Linked DNA regions of Homo sapiens: region 1 is linked to region 2. Evidence: promoter capture Hi-C in human tissues and cell types (Jung and others, 2019). All regions are on one chromosome and are shown on one strand. Each heading gives the region's core, a stretch centred on a gene start or on the middle of the fragment in contact. The rest is flanking DNA. Distances are from core to core; before and after follow the strand shown. Region 1 overlaps NOLC1 (nucleolar and coiled-body phosphoprotein 1). Region 2 holds the start of NT5C2 (5'-nucleotidase, cytosolic II).

The links. Contacts are between HindIII fragments. The study calls those that stand out against the background at their distance.
Region 1: a fragment that was not itself captured here is called in contact with the fragment with the promoter of NT5C2 in region 2 in 1 of the 25 tissues and cell types used here (spleen).

Annotation. Positions count from the first base shown.
Region 1 is chr10:102,160,356-102,163,952 of GRCh38, reverse strand. NOLC1 (nucleolar and coiled-body phosphoprotein 1) reads right to left here. Exons shown (of 13, transcript NM_004741.5): 10 at 2,860-3,501; 11 at 2,291-2,397; 12 at 2,028-2,120; 13 at 83-1,842. The coding sequence ends at 1,684. Among named protein-coding and RNA genes, the nearest start is that of NOLC1, 9.8 kb to the right of the region's middle. The HindIII fragment of the contact is 5,920 bases long and covers 1-3,597 here.
Region 2 is chr10:103,191,656-103,194,885 of GRCh38, reverse strand. NT5C2 (5'-nucleotidase, cytosolic II) reads left to right here and starts at 1,614. Exons shown (of 19, transcript NM_001351169.2): 1 at 1,614-1,650. RefSeq lists a silencer at 1,520-1,799 and enhancers at 1,498-2,184, 2,185-2,873. The HindIII fragment of the contact is 10,406 bases long and covers 1-3,230 here.

The DNA of each region.
Region 1 (3,597 bases), core at 829-3,328, 1.0 Mb after region 2:
GTCCTATAACTGGCACCAAAGTTGTTCTGGTTTGAGTAGGGGGTGGGAGGGGTTTAGACTCACAATAATAAAACTCCCAAGACACATTATAAACCAGCCAGTTTATTATTTTGTAGTAAGATTTAGAACTTTTACCATGCAGACTGAAATATCTGTGTCAGCATGAACAGTACATTTTCTTCCTAGAGGCAGTTACATGGAAAACCAGGTTATTATCAGGTTATTTAGCAAGTATGGAATCCAAACAAGAGGAGACTAATCTTAAGACCTATAACTCGTCCATGAAGGCTTGGGGCACACTTTTCTACCACCAGAATGCCTTAGCTTCCAGAAAGCTGTGGACTCTTCCCTCTCCGTCTTGGTCTGGCTGAGTACCGCTACTGCTCAGTCACTTCCTGCAGCCATACCGTCAGGCCAGCTTGGCCTAAAAGCTGTTATCTCTGGTCACTGGTTTGTGTTGTTACAGCCACTGCTACTAACAGTTAAGGTTCTGAAGGGGGCATGTCAATTGCTCCCAGGTACCAACTAGGAGACACAATAATCCTATTAGTTTGTTCTCCCAAACCCACTCCAGTTTATCAGGTAATATGCTCTGTAAGGTTCTTTCCAACCCCATTAGCACATACATAGATTACCTATAATTTCACCTAATGTAATCTACCTTCCTACTGAGGATTGAGGTTTTAACGTTTGTTTTTTTTCCCCCCACTTTCTTGATCAGTGATTCTCAACCATGTAGGAATTAATGAAACCAATTCTGTATCACCACTGCAACCAAGACAGCAATACCAAGTGATATGTATTTTTCAAACTCATGTCATTTTGTTCTCTATACTGTAAAAAACGAGAAGATGCAGTCCTCAACTTAGAACTCAATACTAGGAAGGGTCAAGTTGTCAAAAAATGTCTTTCAACAGTAGAAAAGTTTGCTTTCAAATTAAAAAACAAAGCACGTATTGCAAACATCGTGTAATGATAAAATTACAGAAAAAAATATATTCAGAATGACCCATGGCATTCACGCCATACCAGAATTTTGCCTGTAACAAAACAGAGAATTTTATCCCAAAAAGTAGGTTAGGTCCATGCTGGCTAAAAACTTCAGTCCCAGACCCAATAAATGAGGATGAAATACATAGTGCATGCTTAACAGACATTGCATATACATCAACAATTCTTTAATGCCCCTCTCTAGGGTTTTGAGGGAAGGAGGGATGAAATGTGGACATGTGCACTCACAAAGGCAGAATTTTCTTCCTATTATAAAAAGTCACACGTGACCCTTTACTATGTTTTGGGCAATAGCCAAGATTTTATCTGTGGGAATCCACCTTTGAAAATCACAACAAAAATCAATAGTAAGTGATTTAATATAAAATATACAAATTTCTCAGTATGAGGACTTTCACAGAAAAGGAAGGAGACAACAATGAAAATGAATTTTCTTAAAAAATAACATTCCCTTATTTTGTCCCTGCTACTCAACACTCAAAAACAAGTCTGTACAAAACTAGGAACACAGAAAAGGACCAGAGAGGATGTTACACTGTAAAGTCTTAGGACCTACTCTAAACTTCTGTCCTCATCAAGACCCTCACCTAGAGACCTGAGGGTTCCCAGGTCCACTGGAGAAAGTAAGTAGTCTCCGATCATCACCCTTGCTTCACCGAAGATGGCCTCAGGTCACTCGCTGTCAAACTTAATAGAATTGACCTGGACAGAGATTGAGCCTCCCCGGTAGCTGCCCCGCTTCTTCTTGGTTTTCTCATGCCGAAAGGACTTGCCTTTGGTGAACTTCAAAACCTGATTGGCTCGCTCTCCCCAGTCTCCGGCTGCACCTCGCTGGTAAGTAGAGAGGGAGATTAACACAGAGGAGGACCATGCTGGAGCCCTGTCACTTTATTCTTTCTACTCCCTGCTCAAGGAAACCTGAACCCAGAGAAGATTCCCACCAACCTGAACCAAGAATTGTCCTCTCTGACACTACCCATCCTCCCTCCCAAGAATGGCACAGATCTCTCTCTCACCTTGGCATCAAAGGAGTTGTCCGCAACTCGTGAATCCACCTCAATTTCCTCCTCCCTGACCCTTCGGAATGGGGATGATGCCCTTTTTTCTCCCTACAGAAGAATGAAGTAGGAAATTAAAGACAGAGTGGTCATGTAACAGTTCTCCTGAGTGATACACATGGGCACATGTACCAGGTCACGCCAGGCAGAGCTGTCAAGATGATCCTAGATTTTTCTACTTTTAAAGAGCTGGCTCCTGAGAAGAAAGTGAGACAACTTACTTTCTTCCTTTTTGGAAATGTGTTAGGGGTCTGAAGCTTTATCTTCTTGGCCTGAGGAGTCTCTGCCTCCTTGGCAGCCTCATTCTGCTTCCGCTTCTTTAATGAACCTACAAAACAAAAAGCCAGACTCAGGCCGAGTACAGTGGCTCACAACTGTAACCCCAGCATTTTGGGAGTCCAAGGTAGGAGGATCGCTTGAGCCCAGGAAATTCAGATCAGCCTGGGCAATATAGTGAGATTCTGTCTCTATAAAAAGTTAAAAAAATGAGCCAGACATGGTGGTGCATGCTTGTAGTCCCGGCTACTCAGGAGGCTGGGGTGGAAAGATCACCTGAGTCCATGAGGTTAAGGCTGCACAAGCCGTGATCATGCCATTGCACCCTGGTCTGGGTGACACAGTGAGACTCTAATAAAAAAAAAAAAAGGTAACCAGTTTCCTGTTCTTCCTCCCAGTTTCCACAACTGGAAGCCCAGTGGTGGGCCTCCTCTCACTACCCTACTCTCAAAGAGTATATCCCATCCTGATTTGGGGGGACAAAACCCAGAGGGCATGTTCATTGGGTACAGACCTGATTTGGAAACTACCACTGCCGCCTTTTTCTTTTCTTCTTCCTCCTCCTCACTGTTCTTAGCTGCTTTTCCATTCTGGGCAGTCAGTGCAGAGGTGCCATTGGCCTTGGGGGCTTGTGGTCTTGGAGAGCCCTTGCCCTTGAGCTTCTCTTCCTCTTCCTCACTGGAGTCATCAGAAGAAGAACTGTTGCTGCTCTCAGCCTTTCCTTTCTTTGCAGAGGCTGGCTTGGAAGGGGCTGCACCTCCTGCTACCTTCTGTGGCTTCTTCTTAACTGCAGACTTAGATGTCTTCTCTTCCTCCTCCTCACTGCTGGAGCTGTCTGAATCAGAGCTGCTGTCCCTACTACCCTGAGGAGCCTGCTTGGCAGGCAGAGATAGAGCTGCTTTGGCAGTCGCCTTGGGCTTAGTGGTGGCCACCATCTTCTTTGTCTTCTCCTCCTCACTGGAGCTGCTCTCTTCCTCACTGGAGCTGCTGTCAGCCTTTCTCGTCAGAAGCTTCTGGCCACCGCCCACAGGTTGCTTGGGGGCTGCAGCTGGCTTCACTGCAGGTGACTTGGTGGTGACAGCTGGCTTATTTGAAGAATTCTTGGTGGTACCAGCTGGCTTAGAAGGAGCTTCATCATCCTCAGAGCTGTCAGAGTCTAGACACAGAAGGGATGGAATCAACAGCTCCCCAAATTGGATTCAGGGGAGCCCTTAGCAGCTGCCTGAGAGCATCTCACTGAACTGAGGGCCTC
Region 2 (3,230 bases), core at 365-2,864:
GCCCAGGCTGGAGTTCAGTGGCGTGATCTTGGCTCACTGCAACCTCCGCCTTCCGGGTTCAAGCGATTCTCCTGCCTCAGCCTCCCGAGTAGCTGGGACTACAGGTGCGTGCCACCATGCCCAGCTAATTTTTGTATTTTTAGTAGAGATGGGGTTTCGCCATGTTGGTCAGGCTGGTCTTGAACTCCTGACCTCAAATGATCCACCTGCCTTGGCTTCCCAAAGTGATGGGATTACAGGTGTGAGCTACCACGCCCCGCCACCCTGGCCTTTTTTCAAATGCACTTGGTTTAAAGATTGTGTTATGCCAGCTTCCAACCCCTATTCCTCTTTTCCATATATCCTGAGAAATTTAGAAGGTGAGGGGCCCAAGGTCTATCCTTAGCTGACCTGAAGCGAAGTTGGCTGAGAAGCACAAGAAGGGGTAGAAGTGCTCTGGCGGAGCACTTATTAAAAAGACGCGGAGGTTTTGGTTGACTGCAAGCCCAATATGAGTCAACAGTATGGGTGCCAAGAACTTTATCGCAGGAGTGCAAAGCGATAGGTCCCAAAAGGAGGAAGCTATAGTCCTGCTTTGCTCTGATGATACCACAAACATTTGGTTCAGTCTTGGGTGATGTATTCTAAAGAAATCACAGTCAAATCTACCATTTGCGTGAGAGGGATAAAGACCCTCAAAACCAGGGCAGAGGAGGAACAATGGAAGGAACGGGAGACACTGATGTGGAATGAGAAGACCTTGGGCAGAGGTGATAGAAGTAAAGTATCTGAAAAGTCAAAGGTCCAGGAGAGATTAGACGTTTGTTCTCTGTGGCTCCAAGGCATCGAATTTCGGCCCTGAGAGTGGAAGTTTAGACACATTTTCTCACTGGTGAGAGCTGCTCGGACCAAGGAATTCAGTCCTCTGGAAATAGCTAGCTGCTTTTGCGGAGTCTTCCTGCTGAGTTGCTGGTGGTGGGGTGAACATTTATTGAGTGCTTACTGTGTGCCAGGATCCTGCTGAGGGCCTCACCTATATTGTGTGATTTCATCCCGTCAACACCCTTTGATGTGGGGACTGTTGTTCCCTATCCTGGTGCTACAAATGTGGGCACCAGGTATAGGAGGTCAGGTACCTCGCCCGAGGTTACAGTTTGTAAGTGGTGGTACTGGGACTGGAACTCGTTCTGACAAACTTCAAAGCTGGTGTTTTTAGCCATCAAGGGGATTCGAGGGTGCCATGGGGGTGTGGACGCATGAGGGGCCTTGAGGTCCATTAGACCAAAACATTCTGTGACTGGGAAAAAGGATGCCCTCTCCTCCCAAGGAAAAGCTTCTTCTGAATGAGACACAGTGGAGAGGTTAGCCCAGGGCCAGGCTGAGGGGCGCAGGCAGAATGCCAAGGGATGGAGACCCTCAGAAGGGCAAAGCCGGTGTTCCATCGTTTGAAGATCTCCAGACCCGCGGGACAGACAGACGCAGCGCGGTCAGGGAGCGTCGGCTTCGCCGAACTCTGCGGCGGAGCTGGGGGACGGAACAGCGCGCCGGTCCCTGGCCGGGCGCGAGCAGAGGGGCGGCGCGGGGCGGTGCCGGGCGGCGGGGGCGGGGAGGGCGCGCGTTGAGGCGGCTGCGGCAGTTGCGCGCTGGGATTGTTGCGGTGCGCTGGAGCCGGTGAGTGCGGCGGGCCCCGTGGGCGGGCGGGGAAGGAGCGGGCGAACGGGGAGCTAGGTGGGGAGGTGCGCGGCCGAACACGCGACCCCAGGGTAGCGGCCGCCGCCTGCCCCCGCCCCCGGCCCCCAGGGACCATGGCCCCAAGGCCCCTCTCCTTAGGCCGAGTCCCCGCCAGCGCGCTCGCGGACGCCGCACGCCTCCCAACTCCCTCGGTGCGGCCCCCGCCCCACGGCAGCCCCTTCCTCCGCGCCGCCGCGACGCCTCCGGCCCACGTCACGCTCGCGCCATTGTTTCCCAGCCGCCGGCTCGCTGGGACCCCGCCTCAGCCTCCCAGCGCGGCCGTTCGCCGCGTTCCGCCCTCTTCCCCCCTTTCCTCACGCTGGTGGTAGCCCTTTCCTCAGTCCTGCTGACGTCCTCCAGCTGATTCCAGGCTGTTCCCGGCCACCCCTGAGGCCGTCTTTTCGCTTCTTGTAAAAGCCTCCCCGCCCCCAGAGCTCCTCGGTCGCCTCCCGAGAAGCCAAGGGGCCTCTGGTGGAGCGCCAGGTTGACAGCGTTTTAGCAGGACCGCGAGAAACGGCCAGCTCGTTTGCCACACGCCCGTGTGCAACACTTCCTGGAAAGGTCACAGCGAATTGCAAGCCGCCACAAAAAACATCCGGACAGCTCCTGGTCAGGGGGCTGAGCCGTTCAGTGGCGGCCTATTCTTCTCCTTTTTTCGGGGCTCCTGAAATCGGAGAGGGCGAGATGCCGATCTGAGGCCTGAACCCTTAGTTTAAGAAAAACGTTTTGGGGGTTTGACTCCGGCAGGCCACAGCTTCTAAAAGCAGCAGGTAGAGGCTGCTGTCCGAATCGACGTTTTCCTGGGCTTTCACCTTTAGGGCCTTGATGTTTGAGGGGGGTCGTGCTCTGAAGTACAGCGCCCCGAAATGACTAGTCACCATTACAGGGGGGTGTGTGCGCGCCCGTCCAGGGGCCGATGAGTTCTTCAGGATTGAGCTGTACTTGGTTCCCAGTGTCTGTAGACTATTCATTTCGCCTCTTCAAGCAACGAATGCAAACTACTGACCATAATGTGAAAGGGAGAATATTGAAACTGTGTCATTTACCATGAAAACTTAGTGTTATTGCGTAGAGAAGGCTTTAGGTTTCAAAAATATTTACCACATGGCTTTTCAACAACGGTTAGAATTTATCCAGATGAAGACATCCAGGCCTGAAAGGGTGAAGTTCGAAAAGAGAAAAAAAATAGGTGTGAGCTGAGAGTGGAAAAAAAAAAAAGAACAAAAAAGGTTAAGTTCAAGAAAACATAGCTGGTTAGTAATTAAAATAAAAACTCCACATGCAGGGTTGATACTAGCATACACAGACTTATTTCTGAAGTGCATTTCCATTGCAGTGTAAACCACTACATTTCAACAGTATAGGTAGCTGCATTACTCTCATTGACCCAGAATTAAGGTTTTAGGATTTAGTAACCAACAAATCTGTAAAATAAGGTGGAGGGGCGCGGGGTGGAGTGGGGGGGGTTCTGAAGGAGATGTTATGCAAGATTCCTTTCAGTTCAAAGGTTTGATGCCATT